Regions from separate parts of the Homo sapiens genome. Here all the other regions are linked to region 3. The links are contacts of gene promoters, found by promoter capture Hi-C in blood cells and fetal thymus (Javierre and others, 2016). All regions are on one chromosome and are shown on one strand. The core of a region is centred on a gene start or on the middle of the fragment in contact, and the rest is flanking DNA. Distances in the headings are between cores, read along the strand shown.

The links. Contacts are between HindIII fragments. The CHiCAGO score rates a contact against its expected background, and 5 or more counts as called.
Region 1: a fragment that was not itself captured here is called in contact with the fragment with the promoter of ADIPOQ in region 3 in 1 of 17 cell types (M2 macrophages); the score reaches 5.2 in M2 macrophages.
Region 2: a fragment that was not itself captured here is called in contact with the fragment with the promoter of ADIPOQ in region 3 in 3 of 17 cell types (activated CD4 T cells, naive B cells and megakaryocytes); the score reaches 6.0 in activated CD4 T cells.
Region 4: a contact is called between a fragment that was not itself captured here and the fragment with the promoter of ADIPOQ in region 3, in 14 of 17 cell types (non-activated CD4 T cells, activated CD4 T cells, naive CD4 T cells and 11 more). The highest score is 17.7, in non-activated CD4 T cells.
Region 5: a fragment that was not itself captured here is called in contact with the fragment with the promoter of ADIPOQ in region 3 in 15 of 17 cell types (naive CD4 T cells, activated CD4 T cells, non-activated CD4 T cells and 12 more); the score reaches 24.2 in naive CD4 T cells.

Annotation. Positions count from the first base shown.
Region 1 is chr3:187,213,150-187,215,849 of GRCh38, reverse strand. No RefSeq gene overlaps it. Among named protein-coding and RNA genes, the nearest start is that of RTP1, 17 kb to the right of the region's middle. The HindIII fragment of the contact is 8,392 bases long and covers 1-2,700 here.
Region 2 is chr3:187,192,865-187,195,564 of GRCh38, reverse strand. No RefSeq gene overlaps it. Among named protein-coding and RNA genes, the nearest start is that of RTP1, 3.3 kb to the left of the region's middle. The HindIII fragment of the contact is 722 bases long and covers 1,089-1,810 here.
Region 3 is chr3:186,841,444-186,844,143 of GRCh38, reverse strand. ADIPOQ (adiponectin, C1Q and collagen domain containing) reads right to left here and starts at 1,434. Exons shown (of 3, transcript NM_004797.4): 1 at 1,395-1,434. RefSeq lists an enhancer at 1-1,394, a cis regulatory region at 1,983-2,010 and a promoter at 1,412-2,110. The HindIII fragment of the contact is 5,592 bases long and covers 1-2,110 here.
Region 4 is chr3:187,141,920-187,144,663 of GRCh38, reverse strand. No RefSeq gene overlaps it. Among named protein-coding and RNA genes, the nearest start is that of RPL39L, 3.8 kb to the right of the region's middle. The HindIII fragment of the contact is 3,288 bases long and covers 1-2,744 here.
Region 5 is chr3:187,116,962-187,119,661 of GRCh38, reverse strand. No RefSeq gene overlaps it. Among named protein-coding and RNA genes, the nearest start is that of RPL39L, 21 kb to the left of the region's middle. The HindIII fragment of the contact is 5,493 bases long and covers 1-2,700 here.

The DNA of each region.
Region 1 (2,700 bases), core at 2-2,501, 370 kb before region 3:
TTAATACAAAAGTGTTAAGTCACATGGATGCTATGTGACTTTGTGTGCCATGATGAAAATGGCTTTGTACCTCTGTGTTCTTCCCTCCAAATCCCATAACCCCAGGCTAATCATGAGAAACACATCAGGTAAATCCCAACTGAGGGACATTCTACCAAGTACCTGACCAACCCTCATCAAAACTGTTAAGGTCATCAAAAACGGGGACATTCTAAGAAACTATCACAGCCAAGAGGAGCCAAAATGGGAAAGATATGTTAAAGTCCCACCCCCCGGTACCTTCGAATGTGAACTTATTTGGAAATGGGATAATTGCAGCTGTAATTAGTTAAGAAAAGGTCATACTAGAGTACAGCGGGCCCTTAATTAATCCTATAGGACGGGCATCCTTATAAGAAGAGTAGGCCAGGCACGGTGGCTCATGCCTATAATCCCAGCACTTTGGGAGACCAAGGCAGGCAGATCACTTGAGGTCAGGAGTTCAAGACCAGCCTGGCCAACCTGTGAAACCCCATGCATACTAAAAATACAAAAATTAGCCAGGCATGGTCGTGGGTGCCTGTAATCCCAGCTACCTGGGAGGCTGAGGCAGAAGAATCACTTGAACCCGGGAGGCGGAGGTTGCAGTGAGCTGAGATCACGCCACTGCACTCCAGCCTGAGCAACAGAGTGAGACTCCTTCTCCACAAAAAGAAAAAAAAAGAAAAGTAAAGACACAGAGACACAGACACGTGAGGGAGAATATCATGTCTTGATGAAGGCAGAGATTGAAGTTTTGTAGCTACAAGCCAAGAAATGCTAAGGATTGCCAGCAAACCAGCAGAAGCTAGGAACAGGTGAGGAAGGATTCTCTTCTACAAGTTTCAGAGGGAACACCCTGACTGCAGACTTCTAGCCTCCAAACTGTGTAATAATAAATGTCTGTTGTTTTAAGCTACCCAGGTTGGGCAGCCCCAGGACACTAATACAGAACCTAAGGAGATATGACAAATAAATGTAATGTGATATCCTGGATGGGATCCTGGAAAAGACAAAAACATCAGGTGAAAACTAAGGAAATCTGAATAAAATTTGGACTTTATTTAATAATAACGTATCAATCTTGGTTCATTAATTGTGAGAAATGTACTAAACAAATATAAGATGGTAATAATAGAGGAAACTGGTGTAGTATTCATCAGAACTTCCTGTACCATCTTCACAACCTTCCAATACTTCTCAAAACAAAAATGTCATTTAAAAAAATGTGACCCAAGATCTCTCAGCTAGGAGATGGAGAAACCAGGATTTGAAACCAGTTCTGATGGACTCTGGAGCCTAATCCCTTAACTCTAACACCAATGGCTCTCAATCAAGGCTACACACAGGCATTACCTGGGGAGTTTAAAGAAATGCCAATGTCTGTGTCTCAACCACAGAGATCCAAATATGATCAATCTAGAGTAAGGCCTGAGCACTGGGATTTTCTAAAGATCCACAGGTGATTCTAATGGACATGCAATTTGAAAGTCATTATTATAGGCTCTCCCACCAGTGTGCAACCTCTGACTTAGGTCACTCAACCAGCAAGAGACAGAGATGAGATAGATTCCCTGATATTGTAGCCCGTGGTCCAGAACTATTTTGTGACTCTCAGTAGCAACACCATTGCTAAGACCTTTCTGCACTAGTGTTTTCTGGAAAGAATGGTACTGTTTTACCTTGCAGTAGTAAACCAAGAGGAGGAGGAGCATCCCAGGCAATGGGGAGTAGCATATGAGAAAGCGGAGATATGAAAGGACACCAGGCATTTGTGGAAAACTGAATGATATAGTCCCTAGAGAGACAGACAGTTTGGGAGAAAGAACATCACACCATTTGGGAAGATCTCTATGTGCAGGATTATAAAAAGCCTTGAATACACAGCTTGCTTTTGGGAATAGGGAGCCATCTAAGGATTTTAAACCAAAGAGAGATGTGATCAGCTTTCCCTTTCAAATGAGGCATTAAATGCAGTGAACTGAGGGAGACTCAAGATGGCTACAGTACATTAGGCAAGAGACCTAATGGTCCTGAACGAGGCAGGCCAGCTTACAGGGAGGAGAGGAATCTCCTTCTGGGGGCTCTGAGAACCTAGGGCTGGGCTTAGAGAAGTCACTTTTAACAGATTCTCAACCTCTGTTAACACTTCACAGTGAATTAGTAGAGAAGTAGAGAGAAAAGAGGGCAGAAACCAAAACCCAAAAGCAGAAATCGTTTCCCAGGTCCCTGGTCTTTCTGTGACCCACTGGTACCAGCACTTGTCCATAGAAAGGAAGCCATGGGTTCTCTGAACTTGAGGGAAGGAGACAAACAGTGCCTTTGCAACAATTTCCTGTGTTGGCATTTTTTTTTTCAAGAAGAAAAGAAAAATGTCATTTGAATGCAGAAACACAAGCTCAATTCCTAGCAATGAGCTTCTGATAATAAGGAAAAAGAACCAGGACCATTTCAACACCTAGGCAGATCACAAAGCCACCAAGGGAGTCTTCTCTGAGGAATGGGGTATTAGGATAAAGCAGTGTGATGACAATGGGAAGGTGTGTGGGGCCTGGACGGTACCCAGGGTGAGTGTCTGAATGACAAACAGATCAGCATGGGCAAAAACATGTCTTCCCTGCCAGCATCTTTCAGTCCCAAAGGAGACCTCTACAAAGTCAGAGGTTATGATACCCCAATGGA
Region 2 (2,700 bases), core at 200-2,699, 350 kb before region 3:
CCGTGCCTGGCTGCTTTTACAAAAAAAAAAAAATTTCCATATAGACTCATAGGTAGCAATTCTAATGTATATAATCTGTATCTTTTCATCCTAGTAAAAAATACGTGTTAATGTTTTATGTGAATATAATTTTAATTTGCATAGTAACAGCAATCACCATATAGCACTTACTATATAGCAATCACTATACAGCACTTACCTGGTAAGTGCTTAGAAAGCATTGTTCTGGTGCTTTATAAATATTAATTTATTTCATTCAATAACAAACTTGACAGGTAGGTAACAGCAGCAGCAGCTCCATTTTACAGATATGTGAGCTAAAGTCTAGAGGTTAGATAACTTGCACAAGATTTAACAGCTAATAACTAGTTGAACTGGGACTTAAACCTATATGACTGTCTACAAAGCCCCAGCTTTAGCCATTGTGATGCTCAGCGTGGAATCTAGAACATAACATCTGCTAATTAAATGTGTGTTTCTTCATCACTCACGTGGCCGTTACAGACCCCAAGAATTGCAAATGAAGTTTATATCATTTCAGCAAATGGTTCACTGGGGCCCCCCCACACTGAGGCCACATCTCCCCAGAAGAGGGGTGAGTTGTACTTGACCCACCAGGCTCCCTGCTACTGCTGGGGATGCTGCCTCTACTGCCAAACTTAATGAAGCAATGGTGTCCACAGACCCCTGATACTCGGTATAAATATTTTAGAGCTGAGAGAGATATTTAGCTTGAAATCTTACCAAAGAAAATATGGTACAGAAAGTCATCTCTAGGCACAGCAACCCTGTAAAGCCTCAATCATTTGATGCCAGGCATCTTGGCTCAATGGAGAGAGCACTGAACTGGGAGTCAGGAGACACATAGCCCAGCTCTGCTCCTGGCTGACATTGTGACCTTGGGCAAGCCACTAATTTCCCTTGGCCTCAGTTTGTCCATCTGTTCAATGAAGAATTAGGGTAGATGACAAAGGTAAGCTCCCCTCTAACTTCAGTCATGTATGGTTTCAAACAGCTTTATACTTAGAAAACTGAATCCTGGGAGGGCAGGAGGTAGGATGGAGGCCACTGGTTGGAAGAGGGAAGCTTCTAAAGAGGCATGGCAGGTAATGCCTGGAGCCAGGCTCTGTTTCCTGGGGCCTGCTATATAGTTGACGATCTCTGGGGAGGTGCTTCTCTACTAGATTTGTACTGAACACAGCAAGAAGGACAGAAATTAAATATATCAAGCCACTGAACATTAACATTGGAAAACCCATTTTTTATGTAGAGACGGGGTCTTGCTGTGTTGCCCAGGCTGGTCCCAAACTCCTGGGCTCAAGCAAACCTCCTGCCTCCACCTCCCAAAGTGCTAAGATCACAGGCATGCGCCATCTCACCTGGCCGGCATTGGGAAAAACTCTTAAGTTCTTCAGGACCCTTCATTAAACTTTCAGTCCTTCAAGTCAGTATTCTTACCTCTGAATTAAGGCAACCAACACCTAAATAAGTAAACTCGTTTAACAAACCTCACAGATATGATGGGAACTGCCTCAGGTGGGAGTTACTGGCCAAAATGAGAATGGGGGCTGTGGACCTTCCCAGAAAATACGTGAAGCTGAGAGGAGCTTATAACAAACAGTGCTACCCAGAACAAATCCTCTAGAAGTATTTTGCAGGTGTTGCTACAATAAACACTATGATGACAGAAGACAGAAAGTAAGAATCACCAGAGGGGTGTGTGTGTGTGTGTGTGTGAGTGTGTGTGTGTGTGTAACCAGCTGATGCAATCCCCATTGGCACAAATTAAGTTTTATTTAGAACCCAAGCTTGCTGTGCAGAGGCCAATATAATGCATCCTTCTGGATAGCAGAGTATTTTCTCTAATAAAAATTTCTATCAAGACAGAAAAAAATACTGTGGTATTGCAACTTGCTCTCTATCAAATGACCTCTAACACCATGGAATCTACAATTTAGAGAAGGCCAATTCAGACATCTCTAAAGCTGTTGGCCTCACCCTGGTCAATTTCTTAAAGTTTGTGATCATGTTTTAAGTGGATAAAATGCTTTAAATTAAGTTCCCAACTAGAAAATAGAGCAATGAAAAGAAAAAACAAGCCTCTAATTTTTTTTCTTGAAATGATGCACTCATGAAAAATTCTCAACTATGCACAATTTTCTATCCCTAAATGGCATTTGAGAAGAAGGAGGGGTGTGTTTTAGGGCTGGACCCATGACTGGAAGTTTCTACTGGTACCCTGTACCAAAGATCTAAATGTGCCTCACAGTCCCAAAACAAAGACTCTTTCCTTCCAGAATGCCCCAACATTGCTGGACCAGAACAGTAAGCCCCTCCATCTGTTGATTTAATGATATTAAGAGCCCATGTAGTAGTCTCAACTTTAAAGGAATTTTTAATTTTCTTCTCTAATGGCAACATTTTTTTTCCTTGGGTACTAAGATTTCTAAAATAGCAGAGATCAAAGTTATGGGTACAGAAAGAAAAGGGAAAAAAAACTAGTTTACCATTAGGGCTAATTTTGAGAAAGCCAGTCCATTCTACCCTTTAATTCTTGGAACTAAGCACTATATCATCATGGTTGCTAATTCTGAGCATGTACCACATCCTGGAGAACATTATCCTAGCCCTGCAAGGTCCTGTCCCCCAGCTGATTCTATAACTGAGTCTTCCAAAGACCACCACATTGTTCAATCAGGC
Region 3 (2,700 bases), core at 185-2,684:
GCTCCCTGTGTACCACTGGCCTTCATGAACAAAGCTGACACCATCATGCTCCTTCGGACATATTCTGCTAGCATAAAGGGACCCCCATCTCCCCAACCGAATTAGGCAGAGCTGGCCTTCCTTCTAGCGGAGTTCCTAGGAGTGAGTTGGTGCCACCCCTTGTGAGGCTTGATCCAAAAACCAGAACCTCTCCAGACCAGGGATCCATGTCCTCTAACACAAGAGGGGCAGACCTAACCTCTAAAATCCCTCCCACTCTAACCTTCAGCATCCACAGCTCAAAACAACCAGGATGCCTCAGAAACAGCACTCACTGGGGCGAGCAGGATTAGGCTTCAGAAAAACCAGGTAGATCCAGTTTCTTCTGTCAGAAAATGTTTTTTTTTAATTACAATTTTTCATAAGTTGCCACTATATGCCAGGCTTTTCTCATTTTATCTCATTAGAGCCTCTTTTTCTTTTCTTTCTTTTTTTTTTTTTTTTGACACAAAGTCTCGCTCTGTCACCCAGGCTGGAATGCAGTGGCAACAATCTCGGCTCACTGCAACCTCTGCCTCCCAGGTTCAGACAATTCTCCTGCCTCAGCCTCCCGAGAAGCTGGGATTACAGGCACCTGCCATCACGCCCAACTAATTTTTGTATTTTTGGTAGAGGCGGGGTTTCACCATGTTGGTCAGGCTAGTCTGGAACTCCTGACCTCAGGTGATCCACCCGCCTCGGTCTCCCAAATTGCTGGGATTACAGGTGTGAGCCACCATGGCTGGCCTCATTAGAACCTCTTGATTACCTTGTAAGATATCCCTATACCTACATATATCCCCAAATCCATAGACAACAACCATGTCACACTCATTGTATCTTGTGAACCCAATCCACTGTCTAGCCCATAGAATTTGCTCAGTAAATATTTGCTGAGTAGAATAAAGTGGCAGAGCTGGATTCCTAATTCCAGTCTGAAGTCAGTGCTCAGCTTGACTTTTCTGAAGCTGCCTTCATATATGCTTCTTCCTTTGCCCTACCTGGTCAAGCTAAGAGGCAATGTATTCCCTTATCCCCCTTAATCGAATTGGACTTCATCTGTGGACAGACCCTTCCACCTTACTGACCCTAACTTTTTCTCAATAGGTATCCTGCTACAGAGCGAACTGGGCAAAATTCAGAATGGTTCCATGCATCTTAGAAGGAATGTCTGAAATAACCCTTTCTCTCTTGGGGCTGTGGGAGAACGGAGGAAGAAGCCCAGTGCATATCTGCCTCCACCAGTGCTGCTCTGACCAGAGTATCCACCTGTATCCACTCCCACACTACTACGGACGGGAGAGCCTGGGTGATCCCAGCCAGAGGCTATGCATGCATCCCCCACCCAGCCTGGAACTTCACAGAATTGCTCTTACCCTCTGGTATGGAATCAGAACCACAGACTGCAGTCAGAATGGAAGTGAGGAGGAGATGGCCCAGCCTCAACAGCCTGGTACTCACGGGGGCAGGCAGTCCCCACCTCACAATTGTCATTTCCCATTGGCCAACTCAGTGAGGGCCAGAGGCCGGTGGGCAGGCACATGTCCCTGGCAGTTGCCCACAGCCTGCACCCTAGGGAACCTGGTACAACCCAGCTTGGGCTTCGGAAGCCAAGTGGAGCTTCAGTCAAAGCACTTGTGTTTCCAGGCCTTGACCCTTATTTTGCCTCCTACAACAGCAACAGAAGATGGGGCAAAAGTCAAAACCACAGCAGGAAAACAAGATTTTTTTCCTGCATCTGACGGAGAAACTTCCTAATGTAAATGAATTAATTGCTCAGTGGTCCAGGAGGTCTCCCCCTCCCATAGATTTGCCCTAATAAGTCAGGGACGCCAATTATCACACCACAGTCTTGCTCACTGTGCATGATTAAGTCTGAGACTGTGTACGTTCAGACAGTGAGTGCTTCAGAAGGGAGCACTGTCAGAGGGGTCTGCAATCAGGTAAGAAATAGAGCACATCCTCCACTCTCTGACCTGGACCCTGGATTTAGGAAAGACCTTGCACATGAATTCTGAGAACTGGGGTGTGGGGAAGTTCCTGGAGTGGTGTGGGGCTTGGCAAGTTAAAAAGGCCCTGAATTCTTAAAGCTTGTGGCCTCGAATCGTAATTTGAATCTAATATAATAGAAAACTTACATAAAATGTGATATTGGAATACCATCTTTCAAGATTTTTTGGTTCCAAAATTTCGGATAACATTTTGACAGCTACCTTGGTATGTGTGTGTGTGTGTTTGTGAGAGAGAGAGAGCCTGTTTTTCCAGTTCCTTAAGCATATATATGCCTATTCTGTCTCTTGTGGAACCCAGCTCTGGCCTAGAAGCAGCCTGGAGAACTGGAAGCTGCCACCCACTTAGGTGTTCCTAGAAAGTTTAGGCTTGAAGTGGCAACATTCAACACCTTGGACTTTCTTGGCACGCTCATGTTTTGTTTTTGAAGGGCAGGATCTGAGCCGGTTCTTGCAAGCCACACATTCTGATGAATTAAATTACGACCCCAGCAAGGGCTTAGGATGCCAGCACCAACTTCAACAAGACATCCAAAACAGAATTTTCTCAGACAGAGGCAGGGCAAGTGTCTGCCTGCCCCCCAGATATCATCTCCACAGTCCACACAGAGCCTAAAAATCTACCAGTAAAGTCAAGTCCACCATTAAAGTAAAGATCTGATGTAAAGCCTCA
Region 4 (2,744 bases), core at 35-2,534, 300 kb before region 3:
ATTGTAATCCCCACACGTTGAGGGAGGGACCTGGTGGGAGGTGATTGGATCATGGGGGCAGTTTCCTCTACGCTGTTCTCATGATAGTGAGTGATTTCTCATGGGGGTGGTTTCTCCAATGCTGTTCTCATGATAGTAAGTGTTTTTACCTGAGATCTGGTTGTTTGATAAGTCTGGCAATTTCCCTGAGCTCTCTCTCTCTTGCCTGTCTTCACCTTGTGAAGAAGGTACTTGCTTTCCCTTTGCCCTCTGCTATGATTGTAAGTTTCCTGAGGCCTCCTCAGCCATGTGGAACTGTGAGTCAGTTAAACCTCCTTTCTTTATAAATTACCCAGTCTCAGGTAGTATCTTTATAGCAGTGTGAGAATAGACTAATAAAGCAGGCAAAAAAGTACTCATACCTTATATAACAATTAACTAAAAATGGATCACAGACTTAAATGTAAAATATCAAACTATAATACTTTTAGGAAAAAAAGAGAAAATCTTTAAGAGCTAGAGCTAGACAAAGAGTCTTAACACTAAAAACATCACTCGTAAGAGAAAAGTTGATAAATGTAACTTCACCCGTTAAAAACTTTTGCTCTGTGACAGACCCTGTTAAGAGAATGAAAAGACAAGCTACAGAATGGGAGAAAATATCTGTAAAACACATATCTGACAAAGGCCTAGCATTTTGAATATATAAAGAGCTCTCAAAATTCAATAGTAAAAGGAAACAAACATGGTAATGAAAAGAGATTTTACTGAAGAGGATACACAAGATTGCAAATTGGCAAATGAAAAAAGATGTTCTATATCATTAGCCATTAGGGAAATGCAAATTAAAACTACAATGATATATTGATATATACCTAGCAAGATTACTAAAACAAAGAAGTGACAACATCAAATTCTGGTGAGGATGCAAAGAATCACTCATAGTTTACTAGTGGGAAAAAAATGATATGGCCATTCTGGAAATCAGTTTGTCAGATTCTGAAAAATTAAGCATGCAACTACCATATGGCTTAGGAATTACACTTCTGGGCATTTGTCTCAAAGAAATAAAGACTCATGTTCACACAAAAACCTAGACACAAATTTTATAGCAACTTTATTCATAATTAGCCCAGATGTTCTTCAACTGATAATGGTTAAATACACTGTGGATATTATGGAATATTATTCAGCAATAAAAAGACACAAACTACTGATACAGGCAATAAACTGGATGAATCTCCAGAGAATTATGCTGAGCAAAAAAAAATGCCAATCCCAAAAGGTTACATGCTATAGTTCTCCTTTATATTGCGATCTTGAAAGGACAAGTTTATAAAAATGGAGAACTAATGGCATATGGGAGGAGTGGAAGCAGGTGGAAAGTTGCTGTGCCTATTAAAGAGCACCATGAGGGATTCTTATGGTGATGGAAGAGTTCTGTATCTTGACTGTAACAATGCCAATATCCTGATAGTAATATTATTGTAGAGTTTTGCAAGATTTTACCTTTTGGAGAAACTGGGCAAAGGGCACAAAGAATCTCTGAACTATTTCTCTTTCTTTCTTTTTTTAGAGACAGGGTCTCACTCTGCCAACCAAGCTGGAGTGCAGTGATGTGATTGTAGCTCACTGCTGCCTCAAATTCCTGGACTCAAGCCACCCTCCCGCCTCAGCCTCCCAAGTAGCTGGATTACAGATGCACACCACCATGCCTGGTTAACTTTCAATTTTTTGTAGATCAGGGTCTTGCTGTATGACCCAGACTGTCTTAAACTCCTGGGCTCAAGAGATCCTCCCACCTTGGCCCCCCAAAGCACTGGGTTTATAAGCATAAGCCACCACACTCAGCCCCTATACTACTTCTTACAACTGCAGGTAAATCTGCAATTATCTCAAAATGAAAAGGGTAAGTTTTAAAAGGCTGATTGCTATACTTTGGACGTTCGTCCCCCAAACTGCATATTGAAATTTGATCCCTAATGTTAGAGGTGGGGCCTGATGGGAAATATTTGGGTCCTGAGGTTTAAGGTGGATCCCTCGTGAATATATTAATGCCCTCTCTGGGGGATGGTGACTTCGCACTCTTAGTGCTTTCGTGATATGGTTTGGCTGTGCCCAACTCAAATCTCATCGTGAATTGTAGTTCCCATAATCCCCATGTTGTGGGAGGGACCCAGTGGGAGATAATTTAATCATGGGGCAGTTAACCCTCATGCTGTTCTTGTTATAGCGATTGAGTTCTCATGAGGTCTGATAGTTTTATATGGGGTTTTTCCCCCTTTTGCTCAGCACTTCTCCTTGCTGCTGCCATGTGAAGAAGAACATGTTTGCTCCCTCTTCCACCATGATTGTAAATTTTGTGTGGCCTCCCCAGCCATGGAGAACTGTGAGTCAACTAAACTGCTTTCCTTTACAAATTACCCAGTCTCCAGTATGTCTCTATTAGCAGTGTAAAAATGGACTAATACACCTTGAGAGCTGATATTTAAAAAGAGCCTCCCTCTCTACTCTCTCTTGCGTCTTTTGCCATGTGATCTCTGCACAAGTTGCTCCCCTTTCCCTTGCACCATGAGTGAAAGCAGTTTGAGGCTCTCACTAGATGTAGATGTGGGCACCATGCTTCTTATACAGCCTGTGGAACATGAGCCAGATAAATCTTTCTTCATAAATTATCCATCCTCAAGTGTTCGTTTATAGCAATGCAAATAGGCCAAAACAGTGATATAAAGATAAGGAGGTTTTTTGTTGTTGTTGTCTTCAAA
Region 5 (2,700 bases), core at 199-2,698, 280 kb before region 3:
CACTTGCCAAGCCGCACCATTGTGCAAAGCTACATCCGCCCAGAGGGAAGGATACATTTTTCTTTGTGCTAAGGTGTCATGTAGGTCAGCTTCATCTCTCCCTCTGATATCAGGAGTGAATTCCCTATTCTCAAAATTGAATGGGAGGCTTTGCCTCATAAATACGTAGCTGCCCTGAGCACAGAAGTGTATAGGAGGTGAAGGTCTAGGAATGAGTGTAATTTTATGCTTATAAAAAAATGGAGTACACTCAATTCTCCATATTCATGGTCCCGCATCTGCAAATTCAACCCACCACAGATTAAAAATGTCCAAAAATTATAATACAGTAATAAAAAATAATACACATAAAAATACAGTATAACAATGATTTATATACCATTTATATTTTATTAGGTCTTATAAGTAATCTAGAAATGATTTTAAATATACAGAAGAAGTGAATAGGTTATATGCAAATAAGTATGGCCATTTCATATAAAGGACTTGAGCATCTGTGGTTTTAGTATCTGTAGAAGTCCTAGAACCAATCCCTGGCAAATAACAAGTGATGACTGTACAAAGAAGGCCTCGGACATAGATACATTTTTAGTACATAGATAATTTTTTTAAGTGGGCCCTTCATCTTCAGGGATTAGATCAATGTTGTATAGACCTAAGACAACGTGTCCCAGTGGTGGAACAGTGGAGGAAAAATCTGGTCTGTGCATCACGAGATGGTTGTACTAGGGTTAAGAAAATTAAGGGAATCATACTGGGAAAGCTATGATGGAAGAGGAAGGAGGAGCCCATATATAAAATCGAGTATTGGTTTCTATTCTTTTCTTTTTTTTTTTTTTTTTGAGACAGTCTTGCTCTGTCGCCCAGGTTGGAGTGCAGTGATGTGATCCTAGCTCACTGCAGCCTTGAACTTCTGGGCTCAAATGATTCTCCCACCTCATCCTCCTGAGTAGCTAGGATAACAGGTGTGCACCACCATGCCCAGCTAATTTTTTACTTTTTATAGAGACAGGGCCTCACTGTGTTGCCCAGGCTGGTCTCCAACTCCTAGCCTCAAGCAGTCCTTCCACCTTGGCCTCTCAAAGTGCTGGAATTCCAGCCATGAGCCACCACACCCATCTTGGTTTCTGTATCTTGAGTCTAGTTAATTGAACAAGGCTTTACTCCCATAATCTTAAGATTCCTGACTCAATTTTGAAATAATGGAATCCCTGCTTGTGGGAGTGATCCTGTTTCTGGGAAGAATTCTTCCACAATAGAAACAAAAAGCAAAGGACTAGGATTCGGGTAGCTTGAAGTTATGGCTCTTCCCATCAGTTTTATGATGTTGGACAACTGGTAGAGAACCTCTCTGGGCCTTAATTATTGTATTTCACCTGGATATATCAGACAGCCGACTTCCTCACTGAGTTACAAGGCTTGAATGAGATTGAAAACAGCTTCATAAACTGAGGCAATAAAACAAGGTTTTCATAAAATGCTACTTTAGAGTGTCAGAGGTCTGACTCTGAGCTGAGTTGAGCTGGGTGGGTTGGCTGAACCTCTCTACCTTGGTATGGTCTGTTTCTGAGTGGGGGTTTGGGCTCATCTGTCTTTAGGCTGCACCAAGGGCTGTGACTACACGCTAGCATTGATGATTGAAAACATTTTAATAATTTGCCATAAATATCCAAGACAATAGGTAGTTTTCTGATTCTAATAGATTATGTTCTGAGCATAGGCCATCTGTCACCTAATGAAATCTGAGGTCAATTATAGAGAATTTTTCCTCCATTTGATGGGACCCATAAAATTTAGGTCACTCTCAAGCACCAGCACCAACCTTAACAGAGAGCACATATCAAAAGATACAGATGTCTTTTGTTTGCCACATATCATATGAGAAAATATACTTGAAATTGTAGGATGATGTAAATGGGTATGTTCAGTATAGGTCTACATTTGATCCAGCAATCCCACTACGGGGTATCTACCCAGAGGAAAAAAAGTCATTATACGAAAAAGATACCTGCACACACATGTTTATAGCAGCACATTTCGTAATTGCAAAAATGTGGAACCAACCCAAATGCCCATCAATCAATGAGTGGATGAAGAAACTGTTTTTTATAGATAGATAGATAGATAGATAGATAGATAGATAGATAGATAGATAGATGATAGATGGATGATGGAATACTACTCAGCCATAAAAAGGAATTAATTAATGGCATTCGCAGAAACCTGGATGAGATTGGAGACTATTATTCTAAGTGAAGTAACTCAGGAATGGAAAATCAAATATTGTATGTTCTCACTCATAAGTGGGAGCTAAGTATGAGGATGCAAAGGCATAAGAATGACACAATGGACTTTGGGACTCAGGGGGAAAGGGTGGGAAGGGAGTGAGGAATAAAAGACTACAAACTGGGTGCAGTGTATACTGCTTGGGTGATGGGTGAACCGAAAATCTCACAAATTACCACTAAAGAACTTAACTTATGTAACCAAACACCACCTGTTCCCCAATAACCTGTGGAATTAGAAAATTTTTAAAAAATGTATTAAATCCACTCTTTGGAACTCAGATAACATCTCCAGAACACCCCAGTGCTTTGTTCCCAACATCCTTTCTAAGTCTGCACCAAACAGCACAGGCACTCTCTTCTCCTCACGTATCTTCCTTGATCATCACTGAAACTCATGTAGAAGGATGAACTG